Regions from separate parts of the Homo sapiens genome. Here all the other regions are linked to region 1. The links are contacts of gene promoters, found by promoter capture Hi-C in human tissues and cell types (Jung and others, 2019). All regions are on one chromosome and are shown on one strand. Each heading gives the region's core, a stretch centred on a gene start or on the middle of the fragment in contact. The rest is flanking DNA. Distances are from core to core; before and after follow the strand shown.

Evidence for each region. The method cuts DNA at HindIII sites, captures the fragments that hold promoters and counts their contacts. A contact is called where the count stands out against the background at its distance.
Region 2: a contact is called between a fragment that was not itself captured here and the fragment with the promoter of CNBD1 in region 1, in 1 of the 25 tissues and cell types used here (dorsolateral prefrontal cortex).
Region 3: a fragment that was not itself captured here is called in contact with the fragment with the promoter of CNBD1 in region 1 in 1 of the 25 tissues and cell types used here (dorsolateral prefrontal cortex).
Region 4: a contact is called between a fragment that was not itself captured here and the fragment with the promoter of CNBD1 in region 1, in 1 of the 25 tissues and cell types used here (dorsolateral prefrontal cortex).
Region 5: a contact is called between a fragment that was not itself captured here and the fragment with the promoter of CNBD1 in region 1, in 1 of the 25 tissues and cell types used here (dorsolateral prefrontal cortex).

What each region holds. Positions count from the first base shown.
Region 1 is chr8:86,865,081-86,867,780 of GRCh38, forward strand. CNBD1 (cyclic nucleotide binding domain containing 1) reads left to right here and starts at 1,335. Exons shown (of 11, transcript NM_173538.3): 1 at 1,335-1,503. The coding sequence starts at 1,416. The HindIII fragment of the contact is 15,353 bases long and covers 1-2,700 here.
Region 2 is chr8:87,918,292-87,920,991 of GRCh38, forward strand. No RefSeq gene overlaps it. Among named protein-coding and RNA genes, the nearest start is that of DCAF4L2, 46 kb to the left of the region's middle. The HindIII fragment of the contact is 5,413 bases long and covers 1-2,700 here.
Region 3 is chr8:88,321,758-88,324,457 of GRCh38, forward strand. All of the region lies in intron 1 of MMP16 (matrix metallopeptidase 16), which reads right to left. Among named protein-coding and RNA genes, the nearest start is that of MMP16, 4.4 kb to the right of the region's middle. The HindIII fragment of the contact is 4,597 bases long and covers 1-2,700 here.
Region 4 is chr8:88,064,292-88,066,991 of GRCh38, forward strand. The region is part of intron 7 of MMP16 (matrix metallopeptidase 16); the gene reads right to left. Among named protein-coding and RNA genes, the nearest start is that of DCAF4L2, 190 kb to the left of the region's middle. The HindIII fragment of the contact is 4,449 bases long and covers 1-2,700 here.
Region 5 is chr8:88,304,536-88,307,235 of GRCh38, forward strand. The region is part of intron 1 of MMP16 (matrix metallopeptidase 16); the gene reads right to left. Among named protein-coding and RNA genes, the nearest start is that of MMP16, 22 kb to the right of the region's middle. The HindIII fragment of the contact is 8,217 bases long and covers 1-2,700 here.

The sequences.
Region 1 (2,700 bases), core at 85-2,584:
GAAATGGGGGAGTTCCCTGATTCCCCTCACAGAATGTGTGACAGGGCTGTGGTTTGCCTGCTTGGTTGGTCATCGCTGCTGCTCAAACCCTGTGGGGAGGGGGAGCACACAGACGGACAGGTGCAGGAGCCCAAGTGGGCATTGTGTTGCAGTGTGCCCTTGTAGCCCTACCCTCCATGGATGGCTTGATGTTAACAAGCTCAATGGACCCTCTGCCTTTTCACAAGGGTAGAGGGCCAGTGTGATAGCTTTCTGTATCCTGAATTCTTGCCCAGCATCCCAGAAGTACTGGGTCACACATGGGCTTGAAGGAAGAACTCAGGGTTTTATTGAGTGGTGGAGGTGGCTCTCAGCAGGATGGATGGGGAGCTGGAAGGGGGATGGAGTGGGAAAATGATCTTCCCCTGGAGTTTGGCCGTACAGTGGCTGAACTCCTCTCAGTGTTCAGATGTTCCTCCTTTTCTCACTTTCTCTGCCTGTCATTCTGCCATTCATCTATTTGTCTCATCTCTTCGTCTGCTTCTGGAGCCTGGGATTCAGGGTTTATATGGGTACAGGATAGGGTGTGTTGCAGGCCAAAAGGCAACTTTTTAGGTGCAAAAACAGGAATGCCTGTCCCAATCTAGGGCCGCAGGTCTCCAGGCTTGAGGGTGGGGCCTTTACTGGGGAACTGCCCTCTTCTACCCAGTGTTTCCCTGTCTCCTGTCCGTATCACTCTAACAGTTATGATACCAGGACCCTATTTCTAAAGGCCTTGGAAGATAATACACAGCATCAAAAGATACATTAGTTAGGATTGTAAACCCTAGCCATTGTAACTATCCTTAATTATTGTGAAGCAGCAGAAAATAACAAAAAAACATGTTCCACACTCTAGCAGAATATAGTTAAATGTAAGCTGGGGTGGGTTTATTGGTGTATGATAATTAGAAGGGATGGTTTACCCTATAAATGTGGCCATGAAGAACAGTATAAATATGCTATCTCTGTTACTGCTGGTACAGAAAGGGCCTGTGATACCCAGTGTAAACATTTGGTAGGCAGGAAAAGGGCTCTGGACTATGGAAGACCAAGGAAGTGAATACTTTCATTTCACCTAGACTCATGAGTGCTGTTGATTCTGCTGTATCAGCCTTGTGGGCTACAGTTTCCTTCTTCATTATTGCTACTCTCTATAGCTCATAAAGTCCTCCTTATGATTTCCACTGGACTAAAATGTAGCATAGTTCTTCCTGGTCTAGATGACACTCTTGGAAATGCACAAACAATGGATAAGAACTATGAACAAGAAGATTCCGTAGGATTCAACCTATCAGAGAGGACCTTGAAGTTCTGCTTTATGAGCCTGCAGGCAAAGAGTGATCATTTGCCTCTCAAGCAGCCTCTGGTCATCTATCTGCCTTTGAGCCATCAAGATGCCGATGTCTTCTCTTCCAGCAGCTATTTTGTCTCACATGACAGCTATTAACAATGTGCCTCCTCCTCCACTTCACAGTATACCAAGTGAGTGGGAAATACTTTGATGCTCTTATTCACCTACCATTGTTTTCAGCGGTTCTTACCCCAGCTATGAAAATTGGGGGTATTTCAGGGTTGATAGGGACATTGGGAATCTTATTGACAGTGCTGAAGAATGGAAAGAACATAGATGTGTAAATCCTGCTTGGTCTACTTGAAGTCATTTCAGTACTCTAGGTCTTAAGTATTTTTTCTCTGTAAAATGAGGATCTTTACGAACTCTTAGAGCTTCAGATACATTGAAATATTTCTAAAGATGAAAGAAAACAAAGATTTAGAGAGGCCACATGTTCCACCAGCTATCAGGTTCCTTTTTCTAGCAGATCTTCTACTCCCTACCAAGAGTTGGTCCTACTACGCTTAATGGGATAATTAATACTTAATATTCTCTAGGAGAATTCTCATTTCAATTTGACAAGGAAAAAAAGATAATTCCTACTATTCTGACTGTGAAATTTATTCCTATTTAACTTTTTTATTTTCTAGTCTTACTTATAAGAATTAAGTATAGAACTAGATATTTCAAAGTTTATATAATTGACAGTATTTTCTCATTTTATGTAATTAGTCTAAACCTATAACGTTTTCTTAAGATTGTAAACACTTCTCATGGCCATCGAATTTATAAGATCTATTATTTGAACACCATCATTCTGACTAGCAATATGTATGAGTTCCAGTGTTAGTTAAGATTTTTAAAAAATATCTGGATAACAAAGGTAATACTTGTGATCCTTTTCAACTTCAATAAAGCATTAACTCTTATTTTATTATTCATTGGGCAGATTTATAGTATTGATTTGAAGAAGCTAAGCCATCCATCCTTTTCCCTTCCTGTGAAAGTTAATTTCTCCAAATACATTTTAAAAAATTAATGCTCATAGTCTCCAGGTTAAAAGGTATAACAGGTGGCAGTTGATACTCCTTGAAGGGGTACACTGATGTCTTGAATAGTGTTAGACAAAATCCTTATGTTAAACAAAATTAATTCCATTTGTATTATAGTGAAAATAATCTTGCATCTGGTCAAAGTTTTCTATTTCTACTTGAGTGGAAATAAGAATTAAGTGCAATTTTGCTGAAGAAACACAGCTTCTACTATTCATGTTTTATTTGTGAAAAAGAAAATAAAAGTCACCATAAAATAATATTTTTAAAAAGCCCAGGAAACTCGGTAGCTGG
Region 2 (2,700 bases), core at 41-2,540, 1.1 Mb after region 1:
AATGCTTTGAAATGAACTTGACATATTAACCATGATCATTGCTACATGCCCTGCTTTTATTTCTCAAAAGTTCACAACAGGTCTCTTCTTTCTAAGTCTCAGAAGCTGTGCTAAGCCACATAGATCACTTGAGGACTCATAGTTTAACCTTCTCCCATAATCCTAAACTAGAGTCAGACTTGAGGAATGAGATCTTGTTGGCTCTTTCCCAAGACTACATTCAAGACTACTCATCATTTGCTTAGCCTCTTCAACCAGCTTATTTCATTGTCTCTCTGGTTCACAGCAGCTTTATCTTACAACTGGCCTAAGCTGGAATTAACAAGCTGAATTTCCCAAAACACTAATCAAAACTACTTGCAGAAAACACATTATCTTCAGTTTCCTATAACTCCAAACATAGGGGAAACTAAAAAGAGCTGATTCATTTTGCATTTTCTATTTGGGTTTGTAACAGGATGTCGGAATGTCTCTAATAATATGAGCATTGTCCTTCAAGATGGTCATATCTAGATACTGAGTGCTTTCTCTAATAAAGTTCCCATTGTTAAAACTGTGAACAATGCTTTGAACATTCTGCTTTGGAATTACCTTCACTACTGATTTACATGTAATATGAGGGATATCATACTACTTTTTGACCACACCTCACAAAGGTCAAAATTTTCTCAAAGAAAATTAAATGGTGTGGTTTAGACACAAAGTTTTGAGTGTCTTTGAGAAATGATCCAGTATAACTATTCAAGACAAAGGCTGTGGAAATCTTAGACCATAGTTACGAGTCAAAACAAAAATAAAGCAAGCTGTGCCTTCCATATATGCCTGAGGCTATGTCTCCAAAAATTTCTAGTTAAGTGTAAAATGTTCAGCCAATTATTTTCTTATGCACTGCCAAAAAGTCTTATTTGATTTCGTTACTTATTTTATGTATTTATGCGTTTTATACCCAATCAACTAGTCATAATATCTGCACAGACTCAGTTTCAGGAAGATCTCTGCTTCAGACTCAGAGTATAATCATTAAGATAGTAACATAATAAAAATCCTTTCAAGAATCTTTATTACTTATTTATTCTAAAATAAATTCTTCATAATCACGATGGTTTATCTCAACTCTCTACAGAGCCTGCAAAAAGTAATAAGACTTTAAACTTCAGGTGCTTCAACACCTAAATTTCCTACAATAAAGATTTATATTTAAAAAGTCTCTTATTTTAAATGTTTAAATGTTCAAGGGTTTGGGGTACAACAGTATGAGTTATCATGTTCATGTAAAGGGATAAAATACTCTGCAGAAAAGCCAGAAGGATGTAGAATTGAATGTCAATGTCTAAGTTTTATGTGAATGAAACAGAGTGCTATGTATTGGAATGCCCTGAGGAGTGCAGGCAGCCGTAAAAAAAAAGTTTCAACAGAGAAAGTGGCCCATTTGTTGTCTGAATTACAAGGTCATTGCATTGGTCTATACAGCAAGCATCAAATTAATTACTTCTCTTTCAGATTTGACAATAAGAAGACAATAAAGCATAAGTGGTGATAGACATATATAGTTCAGTTAAATGAGACCGAATTGTACTAAATCATAACATGATCATGGTTGATTACAGCATTAACAATCCAACCATGCAAATTCATATATACAGAAAATGTACATGCACTCACATACAGAGGATGAACTATGTGATTGAGAATCTGTGGGTTATGTTTGCGTGTCACATTTCTTTAAGAAATATTAACCAAAAACACCACTCAGAGGTGAAAGAATCCTTCACCAACCAAAAAATACTCTTGCAAATGGAACACAGAAATTCTGACATTTGAACAAAAATTAAACATTGAAATGTATTAGGTCATGCCAAACATTATTGATGAATATATGTACAAACAATTTATGATGAACACTAGAAATTTTCTTGCTTGCATAATGCAAGGTATTATATCATTATTAATATCACTATTTTATCATTTGTATATAAAAGACAACAGATATCCTCTTCAAATTATTGAATTTTAAGTATTTATCTACAAAGGATTTGAAAAATTGATTCAAAAATGGTGATAGAGTATGTGTTATTATCCCGGTGTATTACTGAATGTGTCAAAATCCTTTACACACTGAATGTAAATTATCCCTAAAAATCATATTTAAAATTTGTTCCACCCTTGCTTATATTTTTGGGGTGACTGAAGCAGTCCCTGATTAGTTAGCAAGCACTTCTTTAGTATATGCTGTAAACAAAGGTCCAACCAAATTGGATCCGGTTTAGCCAATAGAAATCTAGCTGTCAAAATCTGCTCCAGCTTTCAATGTCTTAGACTTTCATTTTCTAAGTGGACATGAACCTGAAGTTTGGTCTAGTCTCCAAATAAGAAAACTGCCACTCTAAATGTGATTATCTTCATGCTGCACCCTAGTGATCATCCAGTGTGGTGTAGTAGAATGAATGCAGGATATGGAGTCAGGACACTGATAAAAATCCCGCAGATACAAAACACTCTTCAGAGATAGCTGTGTAACGTGGGGCAACTGGGTCTTCTAGATGTGTAGCTTTGGGCAACTCGTTTGCATTTCTGACCCTCTTATTTGTTTTCCAATAAAAAAAATGGAGATTTTATCATGCTTGCATAAATCTAGAATAATCCATGCCATAAAGATTAGATTTGAAATGATAGTTACTCTGATGATTAATTTTAGGTGTC
Region 3 (2,700 bases), core at 155-2,654, 1.5 Mb after region 1:
TTTCAAATTTGGAAATGGCCTTAGTGACAGTTTAGTTCACATCTCATTGTTGCAGATGAGATATCAAATAAGTTACATGTCCAAGTTCAAAGCCAGGTTAGCAAAAGAACCTGAGTTAAAGCCCACTTCCTTCAACTTCTCCCCCAGTGCTCAATTACACCACATTGCTAGCTATCTTGCCATTCCCAATGTTATATGGACACGATATGTTTTTCACTATTTTTTACTATTGTAGAAAACACTTTAATTTCTTTTTCAGTCAATTCTTATCCCTCCCTATACATAATTTTTGAAAAACTTTTTTGTTGTTGTTCAGAATCTGAGGTATAACAGAGCTGGCTTAAGTTTCTTATTGAATCCTACCCATATTATGAAAAGGAAGCACTTGGGGTTTGATCCAATTAAAATAAAAAGGCCTACTGAATTATAAAGGCCTATTTATTTTCTATGGCATTAGAAAAGATGAACAGATTTCAGCGAACGTGATGTTGTAAAAGAAGGTGTGAGCTGAACTTGATATTCTATGATAGTAACAGATGACATGACAAAATGTGAAAATCACATTCTTGAACTAAACTGTCTAAGAAAAACCTACGGGAAGAAAATGTACTGATGTTAGCTTGGTTGATTTTCAGTACATTATATTTTTAATAAATGGAAAGGTGTTTAAATAAAATCTTCCTATACCAATTGATATGTCCTAACCTGATAGATGTTTATGTCATTAGATGCTATGGTGCCAATTACTTCCTTATCGACCTTTATTTTCTATTAATAATAATGACATGTGGCTAGATGTGGTGGCTCATGTCTGTAATCCCAGCACTTTGGGAGGTCAAGGAGGGAGAATCACTTGAGCTCAGGAGTTTGAGACCAGCCTGGACAACATAGTGAGATCTTGTCTCAATGAAAATTAAAAAAAAAAAAAGAAAAAAGAAAAAGCTGGGTATGGTGGTATGTGCCTGTAGTGCCAGCTACTCAGGAGGCTAAGGTGGGAGGATTGCTTGAGCCCAGGAGGTTGAGGCTGTAGTGAGCTATGATCACGTCATGTAATGGTTTCATGAATAACCATAGACCTGAGTGATCCGGCCCAGGCAACTCTGAACAGAGAGGCATAGTCAAGGTAGAACATGTAGGAGAAGCTAGAGAACCTTAAAACAATTGAGACTCTTGTTCTCCTTATCATAGCTTTGGGCCCTTATGAGCACCCTAAACAGCCAGCATATTTGAGACGTTTTGTTAAACCTGCAATCTTGCGGTACATAAAAATCTTGATGAATCAGTCATACAGCCCCTGTTGTTGACCAGTTAGAAACTGCTACAGTGGAGAATTATAGGCTATATTCAGGAGACAACCTTTACTCAAGAAGGCATGGTACCACCATTCTTCCATGTCCAAATGAAATAATGCATCTTGATTTTTTAAGCAAGCAAAGAACAAGAGAAAAGCAACAGTGTCCCAACATAAGAATGTAAAATTCTATAAAATATAATTTTTATCTCTGAAATGTCTCATGATTAATTATTACCAAATTTATATGCAATACAAAAGTACCCAATGCAAACTCTGACTTTTTAGGTACATGCAGGCAAACCTGACAAAGGTTTGAATAAATCTTAAATCAGTTAAGTAAATATATTGCAAGAAAAATTTAGGAAATAGTTATACTCAATTCATATTTGTCATAAAAGACCCCTTTGAAATCTAAAATATCTCTGCTTTCTTTAATCAGGAACAACAAAATCAATTTTTGCCTTATCAAGACTTTTTTTGTCACAAAAGAGTAATCATTTTATGCTTTGATATATGCATCATTTAGAATTTTATATGTTTTTATTTTACCACTAAATCAGCTTGAAAATTTTTTCCTCCCTGGAAATGTATGCTATTGTTTAGAAATTGATAAGGAATATGCTGTTCACATAAGTAATATCTGACAAACTATTCAGAGTTGACGATATGAGAGGTATTACTATCATGAACTATGTTCTGTCTCAAATTTCATAACAAAAATGCTCACAGCATACCAAAAAAAAAAGCCACAGGATCATGAAAATCCCTATATGAGATAGCTATTTTAGGAACAAAATGATTTTTAAGACAGTAGACATTAATAATTATTTGTTAATAATTTAGCTGCTTCTGACCAATGAACACCTCTGATTCAGACTGCTGTCCAATGACAACAGTTTTTGACTTTTAGTTAATATTAGCAATGTTCCCTTGCATCGTGCTAATTATCACATACTGAAAGACCAACTCTTAAAAAAGGGATCCAATGATATATGGATATCTTTACCTAAGTGAGTATATACTGAAAACTTAACAATAAAAGTGTTCCACTTGAAATGAAAGTAGAGCAGTGTATTGAATCTCTTCCATAGTACTACTCCTGGTAGTGTCTGACCCTTTCTTAGCTGTAAGAGATGTTCCTTTTTGCTTCTTAAAAAACAAGCTAACCAAGCAAAACCAAATGCACTCTCTTTCTGTAACAGGATTTCATCACCATATTAAAAATATCTCTCACTTCGATAATTGACAACTCCAAATATTTATACCCTTAAAAATCAGACAGGAAAGAGTTAACATGAATACCTCTAGCCAACCACCCTCTTCAAATCCCCCACTTCCCTGGGAAAAATATACAGTCTTAAACCTTAAATCACAGAGATAAAAAAGAATGGGGGGACCACAAATTG
Region 4 (2,700 bases), core at 54-2,553, 1.2 Mb after region 1:
CAGTAAATATTGTTTATTGGGCTGATTACTGTTCACCATTTATATATTCTTTGAGAAAACATCAGGGAATTTAAAACATTTTTATAAATAATCAATATTTTATTTGTTAGATTATGTTATTTAATGGGGCATTCAATAGCTTTGAAGTCAGAACTAGGGGGTGACAGCTCTACCAATAACCAGCTGTAAGATCCTGGGCAAGTCATGAATCTGAGCTTTCCTTTCATAATTTGTACATAGGATGCTAACTTAATGCTCGCTTGGAATTCGGGAAATAATGAGAGATCAAATACACTCACACTGTAGGTGCCTCAGGCTGTCCCAATAAATGGTTATAACACAGTATTTCACTGATCAAATTTGCTTATCACCTACTCAAATAAATAAATGATACCAATAATAAACAAGTAACACTAATCTCTATTTGGGCTCAATATTTGGAGTATGTTTTAATTTCTATATTGTTTATAGATAGGTTGCTCAGGAAACTTGAATAAATGCCCAACTCTTGAGGTCATATGACTTTTTGTTAGTAGCATTTTGTTTTCCAGATTCCACAATATTATCTAGCAAGCAGAGAATTTTGAATGCTTGTGCAAGTGTGGTTGCCGCTGAGGTGTGCAGCTCAGGACTTCCTTAGAGAAAGAAACTATCATCAGCTGAGTGCCTTTGGGTCTGATGCATCAGTTGGGCCAAGGCTACACTCTTCTTCAGCAGCCTCCCACCAAAGACTGATCACAGCAGAGTACTAAAGCCTGGCCATTTTTGCTCTGCATGTGAGTCCTCTAAGAGGCATTCTTTGATGTGAAGCTTGGCATCGGGTTCACCAAGACTTTGTCACCTGCTGCTAATCCTGCCTTGTCCCCTTTAATCTTTCACATATTTACCTTCTTCCCTGACAAACCTCTCAACCTCCTAACTTGGTCTCAGTGTCTGCTTTCTGGGGAACTCTACAGGGCACAACAAACAAAGTGATGTTATAACAGTTTTTGAAAATAAGGAAAACTTTTAGATACACAAGTAATATTGACAGGAAAATATTGCAGCTTTAAATATAAATGAAAATAGACATAATAAAACTATACTATGGAGTTTTTGAATCATTTTAATAAGTAGAGGTATATTAGCAATTAGAGTTTCAAATATTAAACATTTGGACCTATGTTTTAGATGATCATTTCAACATAAAATATTAATACTAAAATTCCATAAATATTTATAATTCAAAAAATAGCACTATTTGCTTGGTCTAAATCTATTTTCACATATACCAAGACTACTAAATATAAATTCCTTAATCTAGTATAACTTTTTATACATCAATCTTCTGTTACATCCTATAAAGAAATAAATAATCATTGTACTCACCTATTTATAGAAAATGTTTCTTTTACGTTACCTATTTATTGTACTATGTAAGAAACAATGTATTTCGACCTCAAATGAACTTCATGAATACTCCCTAAACCTTTCAAGAAAAAGAATTTGTGAGCAGCATAAAGAAATTGCCTGTTTATGAGGACTCATTTGAAATAAAATAACAATTAAAGTCATATAAACCATTTCTTAACAAACAGTTCTTTTCTTTGCCATTTTCCAGCACCGAGTATTTTAGACAACTCCTCTCTTTTGATACACATCTTGTGTATGCCATTTTTATTCCCAAATTTTACTGCCGTCCTCTTTTCTGCCTCATATATTTTAGTTTCTATTCCACAAGTGATTTGTGTCTCTTGAAATGAAACTGCCAACCAGGGTAATAAGTACTGCTTAAAGTTATTAAGTCATAGCAACAGTTTGAATTTTGAGACAACCTTTCAGCTACTTGATTTTATTTTGACTGTTACTGATTCTGACAACACTAGCATCTTTGTTTTAAAATTTGTTTCCAATTCTTGAAAGAGATTGCACCAGCTCAATTTTTAAGACAGCTTTTTTGATACTATTATCTCATAACCATTCAGTCTTAACATGCCTAGTAATTGAGAATGTACACCTGGCTTGATTATGCTTACAAAATGTTACTCTTTATATGGGATATACCTGAGTGATGGAAAGATAGCTAACTAGCACAAAGTGTGGAGTACATTCAGTTGCTGGGAAAAAAAAACATATTACTTCCTCGAGGTGTGATACATTTTCTATTTCTGGGTCTCTCTAAATAAAAAACAAACACCTTATGAGCATAAAGGAGAACGACTCAGTGTTACTTACTAAATATCAAATAGAGGAATAAATAGGTCTATTCAGGCATCACAACTGTAAATGGTGCTAACTGATAGTCACATACACCAAATGGCTGACTTTCAGTAAGAAAGCCCTGTGGGTTTGTACATCTACACTCTCACTCAACAGCAAGCAACTTAATCAGTGAAGGGAGACATTATACACTGGCTTCTTTAAAAAAACAAAAACAGCAGCAAAAAAAACCCACCCCACACATGTCTACACATGCGAGGTTGAAAGAAAAAGTATCTAAAATACTTGTCCACTTACTTGTACCGATAATCATTTCACAAAAATTTGAGGGATCTGATGCAAAATGTGATACAAAGAGAAAACATAAATTAAAAACAAACAAAAATAAGATGAGAAATTACAGAGCAAAAATAAAATACAGATAAAGAATATAAAATAACAGTGACAAAATTATTCAAAATGTGGGCATCAAAATTTTTTTGGTAGTTATTTCCAAGATGA
Region 5 (2,700 bases), core at 105-2,604, 1.4 Mb after region 1:
GCTGCCAGAGAGAAAGGCCTAGCCACCTACAAAGGGAAGCCCATCAGACTAACAGCAGGCCTCTTAGTGGAAACCCTACAAGGCAGAAGAGATTGGGGGCCAATATTCAACATTCTTAAAGAAAAGAATTTCCAACCCAGAATTTCATATCAAGCCAAACTAAGCTTCATAAGCAAAGGATCAATAAGATTCTTTTCAGACAAGCAAATGCTGAGGGAATTCATCATCATGAGGCCTGCCTCACAAGAGCTCCTGAAGGAAGCACTAAATATGAAAAGGAAAAGCCATCACCAGCCACTTAAAAAACACCCTAAAGTATATAGACCAGTGACACTATAAAGCAACCACATAAACAAGTCTGCAAAATAACCAGCTACCATCATAATGACAGGATCAAATTCACACATAACAATACTAACCTTAAATGTAAATGGACTACATGCCCCCAATTAAAAAACACAGAATGAAAGGCTGGATAAAGAGCCAAGATCCACTGGCATGCTGTATTCAACAGACCCATGTAAAGTGAAAGACACATAGGCTTGAAATAAATGGATGAAGGAAAATTTACCAAACAAATGGAAAACAAAAAAAGCAGGGATTGCAATCTTGGATTCTGACAAAACAGACTTTAAACCAACAAAGATCAAAAAATACAAAGAAGAGCATTACATGATGGTAAATGGTTCAATTCAAAAAGAAGAGTTAACTATCCCAAATATATATGCACCCAATACAGGAGCACTCAGATTCATAAGCCAAGTGTTTAGGGACCTACAAAGAGACTTAGATGCCCACACAGCAATAGTGGGAGACATTAATACCCCACTGACAATATCAGATCATCAAGACAGAAAATTAACAAAGATATTCGGGACTTGAACTCACCTCTGGATCAAGTGGACCTCATAGATATCTACAGAACTCTCCACCCCAAAACAACAGAATATATATTCTTCTCATTGCCACATGGCACTTACTTTAAAATTGATCCTACAATCAGAAGTAAAACACTCTTCAGCAAATGCAAAAGAAATGAAGTCACAACAGTCTGTCAGACCACAGTGCAATCAAATTAGAACTCAAGATTAAGAAGTTCACTCAAAACCATACAATTACATGGAAATTGAATAACCTGCTCCTGAATGACTTTGGGGTAAATAACGAAATTAAGGGAGAAATCAAGAAGTTCTTTGAAACTAAACAGAACAAGGAGACAATGTACCAGAATCTCTGGGACACAGCTAAAGCAGTGTTAAGGGGGAAATTTATAGCACTAAATGCCCACATCAAAAAGCTAGAAAGATCTCAAGTTGACCACCTAACATCTCAACTAAAAGAACTAGAGAACCAGAGCAAACAAAACCCAAAGCTAACAGAAGACAAAATATAATCAAGACTAGAGCTGAACTAAAGGCGACAGAGACACGAAAAGCCCCTTGAAAAATCAATGAACCCAGGAGGTGTTTTTTTTTTTGAAAAAATTAATAAAATAGACTACTAGGTAGACTAAGGAAAAAGAAAAGAGAGAAGAATCAAATAAACAGAATTAGAAATGATAAGGGGGATGTCACCATTGACCCCACAGAAATACAAACAACCATGAGAGAATACTATAAACACCTTTATGCACATAAACTAAAATCTAGAAGAAGTGGATAAATTCCTGGATGCATACACACTCCCAAGACTGAACCATGAAGAAATTGCATTCCTGAAAGACCAACAGTGAGTTCTGAAACTGAGGCCATAATAAATAGCCTACCAACAACAAAAAGCCCAGCACCAGATAGATTCACAGCTGGATTCTACCAGAGATACAAAGAATAACTGGTACCATTTCTGCTGAACTATTCCAAAAAATTGAAAAGGAGGGACACTTTCCTAGCTCATTTTATGACACCAACATCATCCTGATACCAAAACTAGGCAGCGATACCACAAAGAAAACTTCAGGCCAATATCCTTGATGAACATGGATGTAAAAATCCTCAGTAAAATATTGGCAAACTGAATCCAGCAGCATATAAAAAAGCATATGCACTACAATCAAGTTGGCTTCATCCCTGGGATGCAAGGTTGGTTCAATATATGCAAATCAGTAAATGTGATTCATCACCTACACACAACCAAAGACAAAATCCACATGGTTATCTCAATACATGCAGAAAAGACCTTCAATAAAAGTCAAAATCCCTTCATGTTAAAAACTCTCAATGAACTAGGTATTGAAGAAATACACTGTAAAATAATAAGAGCCATATATTTCAAACCCACAGCCAGTATCATACTAAATGGGCAAGAGCTGGAAGCATTCCCCTTGAAAATTGGCACAAGACATGGATACCCTCTTACCATTCCTATTCAACACAGTATTAGAAGTTCTGGCCAGGGCAATCAGGCAAGAGAAAGGAATAAAGGTATTCAAATAGGAAGAGAGAAAGTCAAACTATCTTTGTTTGCAGATGGCAGGATCCTGTATCTAGAAAACCCCATTGTCTCAACCCAAAAGCATCTTAAGCTGATAAGCAACTTCAGCAAAGTCTCAGAATACAAAATCAATGTGCAAAAATTGCTAGCATTCCCATATGCCAACAGGCAAGCAGAGAACCAAATCAAGGTCTCACGTTTAAGATATCTGCAACTGCCCCATACTTTCCTGGTGCACTCCATCCAACAATCTCTGAACTACATTAGCAA